Regions from separate parts of the Homo sapiens genome. Here region 2 is linked to region 1. The links are contacts of gene promoters, found by promoter capture Hi-C in human tissues and cell types (Jung and others, 2019). All regions are on one chromosome and are shown on one strand. Each heading gives the region's core, a stretch centred on a gene start or on the middle of the fragment in contact. The rest is flanking DNA. Distances are from core to core; before and after follow the strand shown. Region 1 holds the start of UBE2Q2 (ubiquitin conjugating enzyme E2 Q2). Region 2 holds the start of SCAPER (S-phase cyclin A associated protein in the ER).

Region 1 (3,742 bases), core at 1,243-3,742:
TTACACTAGTCCTCACTAAATCCTCCTTGTACTGAAAGTGTCTCATTCACTTCTTGCTCCATTTCTGTTGCCACTGCCTAATCCAGGTCATCACTCCTTATTTTTATCTGCAGCAGACTCTTACCAGCCTTCAATATGGTTCTCGATGGGGCACCAGTGGCACTTTAGGTGGGATAATTCTTTGCTGTGGCAGACTGCCTGAACGTTGCAAAACATTTGGTATCCCTGTACTCCTAGCACTAAATGCCGGCACAGCAATAAGACCACCCCACCCCCACTGGGATAACCACATTTCCTAATGCCACCCACTGTAGAGAACCATTTCTAATCCTGGATGAAAGATACATTCTCCCAACTTACCTGAGTAAACTTAGTAGCTCCCCACAGCCTACAAATTCAGTCTCCTATCATTCAAACCAGCCCTACCTTTTCGTGGCCATGCCCCAACTTCTACCAGAGTAATCACCCTCGAAGCCATTCAGGCCCGTCTCCTTAAAACACCTGCTTCATGACAACTACTACACTTTCTGTTTTCCACTCTTGGAAAATCCTCCCCTTCTCCAGCCTGTATCGTGGGCTTCTCAAGTCTTAGCATAAATTTTCTACTTCTAAGGAAACCACACTTTCTCAAATCTCCGTGTCTTCTTTGGGTGGAGTTTCCTCAGTCTAAAATGCCCTTCCGCCAGCCTTCCAAAATTGTAGTCACCTGTGGAAGCTCATCTCTAACTGTCTCAGCCTCTCATCAAAGCCTTCCCTGAAGCGCACCTCCCCCAAGTCAAAATTAGTTGCTTTGGCTTTCCTGATGATACCACAGGAGCTGTCACCTTATTGAACTCTTCCCCCAAGAAGACTGAGTTCTGAGAGCGAGGACGACTTCACTCAATTCTGCAACACTAGTGCCCAGAACACTCAGACGTATTCATTCAATAAATGAATTATCTCCTCAGTACAGCACTTGTCTTTTTTTTTTTGAAATTAACACACCTTCTGCCCAGATAGTCTGGTAACCATTTTAAGGTCAATTATAACATCAAGGTTTTTGCAAACGCCAGCCACCCTGCAGGCACTTGAGTACCCACTGACTCAACCAAAGGGAGTTAAAAACAAGACTTGGTTTTAGCCATGTTTGAAAAGGAGCCCGAAGCCACCACCTTGACGCCTATTATAACCAAGAGAATATTCTGCAGTTTGGACCAATATCCTACATCAATTTCACGACGAATAGCTTCACGATACACTTTTATGGAGAAACTTAATACTTCAATTCCTTTACCAAGCCTTGGGTTTCTAATGAGATTTCCGCTTAATGAGTGAGTTTTTAAAAGTGTCTTTTCGGCTTTGTGACATACGTGATCTTTCCGGGGAGCAGCCCTGGCGCGTATCTCCTTTCACCTATCCATTTTCGAGGCTTACACACAAGGGAGGGGCCACACGAATACACACTCAACACCACCTGCCGCAACGACGGTACTATGCTCCTTTCCAGAACACAGCAGCGCGCAGCCAGGCCCGGGGGAGAGGGGTCGCTCAAACAGCACCAGAGTCTGCATTCCAACTTTTCCTCCGTCAACGAGTCCATTCTCATTGTCAGTTTCTCCTTAAACGCAAACTTAAAAACAATTGGCTGAACAAGCGGGAAGAAGGAAAATCCGACTGAAAAATGAGGCGTTAAAACTTAAGGGCCGTTCCCCTTGCCGGCCTGGGCTCAAACAACAGCCGGAGCTGCGCCGCCCCGCCCCGCCCCGCCCCGGTCCCGGGAGCAGGCCGGCTGAGGGCGGCCATGGACCCCACAAGGGCTTGGGCCGCCGCGGACTCCCCCCTCGGGGCTAGGAGACGGGGACCGAGATGGGCCAGAAGCCCCCAAGCCAGCCCCTGGCGAGAAGCCGGAAAGACGCGCCCTCCGCCTCCTCCCACCCAAGCCTCGCGCAGTCCCAGCCCGGCCTGGGATGGGCAAGTCGCGGGGGAAAGGGGCGGGCCTGCCCCGCCCGGGGAGCCGGAGCCTCTCCGGGGCAGGCTCCCCTTTGTCCCGGGACTCGAAGCGCCCCCTCTCCGTCCTCGCCCTGCCCCGCGGGGCCGCGGCCGGGCGCCTCACCGTGATGTTGCAGTGGAGCGTGAGTGGCGGCGGCAGCGAGTGCGGGCTGCCCTGCTGCGGCACCAGGAACTGGCAGTGCAGCTCGTCCAGCTTCCAACTGACGATGCGGAATCGCTCGTGGTTCTTGTCGAAGATGGACGCCAGGAACTTCAGCTCGGCCTTGAGCCCTGACACGGACATCTTCCCCTCATCTCCGGCGGGAGGGGCGCGGAAGGGGAGCCGGGCGCGGAAGGGGAGCCGGGCCCGGAGCCGCCGTCACGGCCGCGACCGCCCCGCGGGGCCGGCCTGGGCCGCGCTCTCGCGGCTCCGCCTCGTCGAGCGCTGCTGGAAAATGGCGAGGGGCGCGGAAGCCTCGGCGTGTGGCGGCCTGGGTGGCGCTTCCTTTGTAACCGACTCCAGCGGCAGGAGGCGGCGGCCCCGCGGCTTAAAAGGGCAACAGCGACGCCGCCCCCGCTACCGCCTGGGAAAGGGCTGCCCCCACCCCGCCCCCGTCCCCCTCACCCTGGCGCGCCCTGCGCGCTCCGGTTTCAGCGCGTGCACGAGGCCAGAGCGCGCGCGCCCGGCCGCCCCCTCCTCGCCTTGACCCAGCTCCCTTGTTCCCGACCCATCTGCTCCGTTCTTCGCACCCGCGGACTGGAGGCTCGGGGCCAGCTGGCGCCCGGGCCCCAGAAGTCGGGGAGGAGCCGGAGACCCCCGCGCGCCCCCGCCCCCGGCCTGGAGCCGGACACGTGCGTGGCGGATCGCGCCGGCCACGTCGGCGCCGCTGCAGACTAGCGCCAGCCCCTGGGGGCGGCTCCTCAGCTTGGCGCTCGGCGCGGCACCCGCTAACCTCACTGGGGGGACCTCGTGGGAGACGCGGGTGCGGCTCACCCAGCGTTACCTCCGCTACTTTCACCCTAGTCCGAGCCACCGCTTCGCTAGCCTGGGTTCCTGTGAGGACCTTCTCACCAGCCTGGGTTCCTGTGAGGACCTTCTCACCGGACTCGCTGCTCCCGCCTTTGCTCTCAAACCATCCATTTACCCAAGACGATGGTTTAGCCCCTGGAGGCTGTTGCCTGGAGGTGTCCCATGATTTCATCCCTTCCCTTAGCTACCACCTGTGTTCACTCTGCCGTATATAGTCTCTCTCTCCCCCCTTTCCTTATTTTGCCTTGTTTCCCAAGCTTAAGATAACCCTCCCCACCCACACCCCCATGGAGCTAGGGCTGCCCACTATTTTCACTAAACTCATAGCTCAAATATCATCTCCGGCACCCCCCACCACAACCCATTTCAAATAGTCACCCTGTGTCACATCGTCCTGTGCTAAGTTTTTGTTGGGCACCTGTCACTATCTGATCTTTAACCCATTTATTCCTTGTCTCTGCCCCGTGTTAATGTGTTCAGAGCTGTATCCCCAGGACCTAGAACAAGACCTGTTATATAGTAGAAACCCGATATGATTGAATTGAATGCTCGCTCTTATCTGGAATCCCCACCACTAGCACAATTCCTGGCACATTGTAGGTGCTCAAAAAATGAATAAAGGTCTGGATAGCAGTCCAAAGGAATACATCCCAATTTGGCAGACAATAGTGTGTGCAATCGTAAGTGCAAGAGGCAGGACCAGCTGCATATGCGTCCAACCTATGTAGTTGCACAGTGCTCCCA
Region 2 (3,742 bases), core at 919-3,418, 1.1 Mb before region 1:
CCTGAGTAGCTGGGATTACAGGCACATGCCACCACGCCCAGCTAATTTTTGTTATTTTTAGTAGAGATGGGGTTTCACCATGTTGGTCAGGATGGTCTCGATCTCGATCTCCTGACCTCGTGATCTGCCTGCCTCGGCCTCCCAAAGTGCTGGGATTACAGGCGGGAGCCACCAGCCCAGCCCAACTTTTTTTTTTTTTTTTTTTTTAATTGAGATGGAGTCTCGCACTGTCACCCAGGCTGGAGTGCAGTGGCATGATCTCAGCTCACTGCAAACCTCTGCTATCCAGGTTCAAGGGATTCTCGTGCCTCAGCCTCCCGAGTAGCTGGGACTATAGGTGTGCGCCACCGCACCCGGCTATTTTTTTTTTTTTTTTTTTTGTATTTTTGGTAAAGACAGGGTTTCGCCATTTTGGCCAGGGTGGTCTTGAACTCCTGACCTCAGGTGATCCACCTGCCTCAGCCTCCCAAAGTGCTGGGATTACAGGCGCGAGCCACGGCGGCTGGCCCCTAGTGATGTTGGAAAGAATGGTTTCAGTGGGGTGGTGGGGCAGAAACCAGAGTGCAGTAAGTCCAGACTTGAGTAGTGGTTGAGGAATTGGAGGCACTCTTGTTTAGATAATTGGAGAAATGTATTATAGGAAAGAAAGCAGAGGTTGAAGTGGAGTCTGGTAGGTTCGGCGGGAGATTTCAAGATGGGAGAGACTTCAGGTTGTTTACATGCTTATGAGTATGAAAGGAAGTGGGGATAATTAAGAAATGAGGCCCTGACCGCCTTTTATAGAATTGTAGTATGCTCCCTACTCTATCCCCCTTATCCTACTCATTTTGTTAACTGTAGTGCTTATCATGTTATATAATTTACTTATTTATTGTGTTTACTATTTCTTGTGTTAAAAGCAAAATATTAGCCAAATTAAACAGAGTTTGAGCAAAGAATTATTCCCGAATCAGGCAGCCTCCTGAGCCAGAGTAGGTTCATACAGACTCCCGCAGAGCCACATGGTGGAAAAAGGTTTATAGACAGAGAAAGAAAAGTGAGGTAGGGAAACAGCCAGAATGGTTATAGCTAGACGTTTACCTTATTTGAACACGGTTTGAACAGTTGGCCGTCTTTGGCCAAAACTTGGTGATTGGCGCAAGAGTAGGTTGCAGTGTATTTACACCTCCATTTAGGTTATAGTTTACTATTTACGGAGAAACCTTCAGGCTGAACTTAAAATATGTAAGGACACAGCTTTTGGCTAAACTTGATGTAACACTTGCCTGGTTTCACCCTGCTCCAAGAAGCCGGAGGTTTTTTAGAGATTTCTGTTTATTTTGCTCACGTATTAACTCCAAGCATCTAGAATACCATCTGATATATAGTATGTGGTCAATAAACATTTGCTGAATAAATGAAAAAGCGAGTTTTCTAAGAAGGCAAGAGAGAAGGGGAGCCAGAACATAGCCATATGGTTCCTGCCCCCACAACGCTTGTGAGTCCAGGACTTCCCGCCTACTGCGGGTGGGGAGGGAGAGGGAAGGGTAAAGAGCTGTTTCCCAGCTGGATGAAAAGGGACGGTGAATATTCGTTTGATAATTACAGTCTGCATTGAATCTTTTTTCTATTTTGTTCAGACTGATTTAAACGTTAAAGTATTTAATTCATCATATGTTTGTCTTTGAAGTAGATGAAACGTATTTGTTAGGTCTCTGTACTTCGACCTTCCAAGCCTGGCACACAGAAGGGCCCTGATAAAGCTTCTCGGAGGCCTAGTTGTGTTCAGCGCAGCCCAGCGTGCTCCTGTCAAGTGCTTTCGCCAGCACAGATTTCTGTGAGGCGCGTCTCTAAGTCCTTAATCTGTGGATTGACTGTGGTGATAAGGCAGGAGGAGGGAAGAGATTGAGTACGAGAAAGACCTGTGTGGCCAAAAGCGGCGGTGTAAGCTTAACCTAGGAAAAGAAACAGCTTCGGAAACGCCGCGCCGGGACATCGAACCAAATCAACCCTCACACCTCCCGCCTGGGCGCCCCAACGGCGCGAACGGGCGTGCGCCTGCGCGCGGACAACACAGATCTTGCAGCCGGGAGCGGCGCGGCAGCGGCTGAGATCACGTGGTGCGCCGGGAAGCCACCCCGCCTCTCCGAGGCCTCCCTGCCCCGCCCCGTCACGCCCCTTTCCCGGCGGGACGCTTTGAGCCGCCCCGAACTAAGCAGGGCGGTCGGGGGTGAGTGTCCGCGAGGGGCGTGCGTAGCGCAGACCCGGGCGGGTCCGGGTTGGGGCGCGGGCCGTCTGAATGCCTTGCGGGGACCAGGGGACAAAATGGCGGCGGGGTACGCCCTTTCACCCCCTCCCCTCACCTGGGAGTGCGAGTTGAGCGGGGCAGGGATCGTTGCTGGGGGAGGGGAGCCGCGGTCGCCTGGGGAGGGCTCGGAGGTCGGCCTCGGAGGCCTCGGGACGGGGGCTGGGGTGAGCCGCGTCCGGGCCCTGCCCTGCGGGCTCATCTGGGGTGTGAGGGACGTGAGACCCCGCACACTACGCGGTCTGAGGGGTGAGTGGGGGGCTGCCGCGTCACCTCACTTGGGGGCAGCCCCGGCCGCGGGTGACGAGGCTTCTGGAATGTCTAAATGCGAGGGGCCCCTGGAGGAGCCTCCCTTCGTTTGACAGGTGATCGTCTTCGTCATCTGTCATTCCCAGCGGGGTTTACCATGCTTTCCCTGTACTCTGATCTTAGCTCTGCCCAGGAAACGGGGCAGGAATGGCCTCTCCGTCTTCCAGATGCGTGCGCTGAGGCCTGGAGGGGCGAAGAGCCTCTCGCACCTGGGAGTAGTGGGACCCAGCCTCCTGCCTCTGTTGCTGCTCTTTTCCAAAACAGCACTTCCTTGGCGCCTTTCCTCTACACCGTTTTCCAGGCGCGTTCGTGGGAACGGCACCAGGGAGGAACGGGATTGTTAGAAAGCAGGCACAAAACTGGTCCTGTAAGCAACACCTGCTGCTGTTAAGGGGGCCCCAGCTGAGATGAGGCCGCCTGTTTGTGAGCAGCTTCCTGTTGCTGGTGGACTGCATCTCTTATTCTAGTTGTGACAAGTTATTTTCCATGAAAATAGCTATTCATTAATAGTCATTTTACCGAACAGATACTAATTCCTTATATGAATTATAGTTTGTCTTAGTTTATGGATTAATTTCATCATTAACTTTTCATCTTCATAAATAATCTGGTAGAAGGATGGATGGGCTAGGAGTAATACTTATTTTATGAATGGAGAAACGGGGGCTCAAAAGGTTATTACTTGCCTTAGATCACCAGCTGGTGAGTGGTAAATCTGGGGTTAAGTTTTCTGACCTAAGGTTGGTAGTCTGACCACTGTCCCACTCTGGCCTATACTGGTGCTCTTTCCCTTCTGTTATTTCTGTTAACTATGACTTTTCCTCAAAGTTTGTTGGTTGCAGATGATTTATGCCACTTGAAGAATGATATCCACTAAAGAATTAATATTTTTAATCAATCAAAGAGTCAAGTTTTAATGTGATTTGGAAGGTTGTCTGTGGGAGAAGTAATCTGATGGCTTTGAAGGCAGACTGTTTTGAGTTTGAATCTCAGCCCCAACCCTTGTTTTTGGCAAATTAATTTTTCTGAGCCTTTCTTATCTGTAAAGTAGGAATAATATCCACCTCATAATTTTGTTGATAGTAATAAATTAGGTGTCTGTAAAGTATTGAGAACTGTTCCTAGCCCATGGTAAGCCCTCAACAAATG

What was found. Contacts are between HindIII fragments. The study calls those that stand out against the background at their distance.
Region 2: the fragment with the promoter of SCAPER here is called in contact with the fragment with the promoter of UBE2Q2 in region 1 in 2 of the 25 tissues and cell types used here (IMR-90 fibroblasts and hippocampus).

The regions. Positions count from the first base shown.
Region 1 is chr15:75,842,197-75,845,938 of GRCh38, reverse strand. UBE2Q2 (ubiquitin conjugating enzyme E2 Q2) reads right to left here and starts at 2,492. Exons shown (of 13, transcript NM_173469.4): 1 at 2,093-2,492. The coding sequence starts at 2,272. RefSeq lists silencers at 1,682-2,081, 2,332-2,411, 2,552-2,691, 2,732-2,911 and an enhancer at 1,513-2,410. The HindIII fragment of the contact is 12,421 bases long and covers 1-3,742 here.
Region 2 is chr15:76,903,766-76,907,507 of GRCh38, reverse strand. SCAPER (S-phase cyclin A associated protein in the ER) reads left to right here and starts at 2,168. Exons shown (of 32, transcript NM_020843.4): 1 at 2,168-2,209. RefSeq lists an enhancer at 1,822-2,322 and silencers at 2,063-2,372, 2,383-2,492, 2,513-2,592. The HindIII fragment of the contact is 13,869 bases long and covers 1-3,742 here.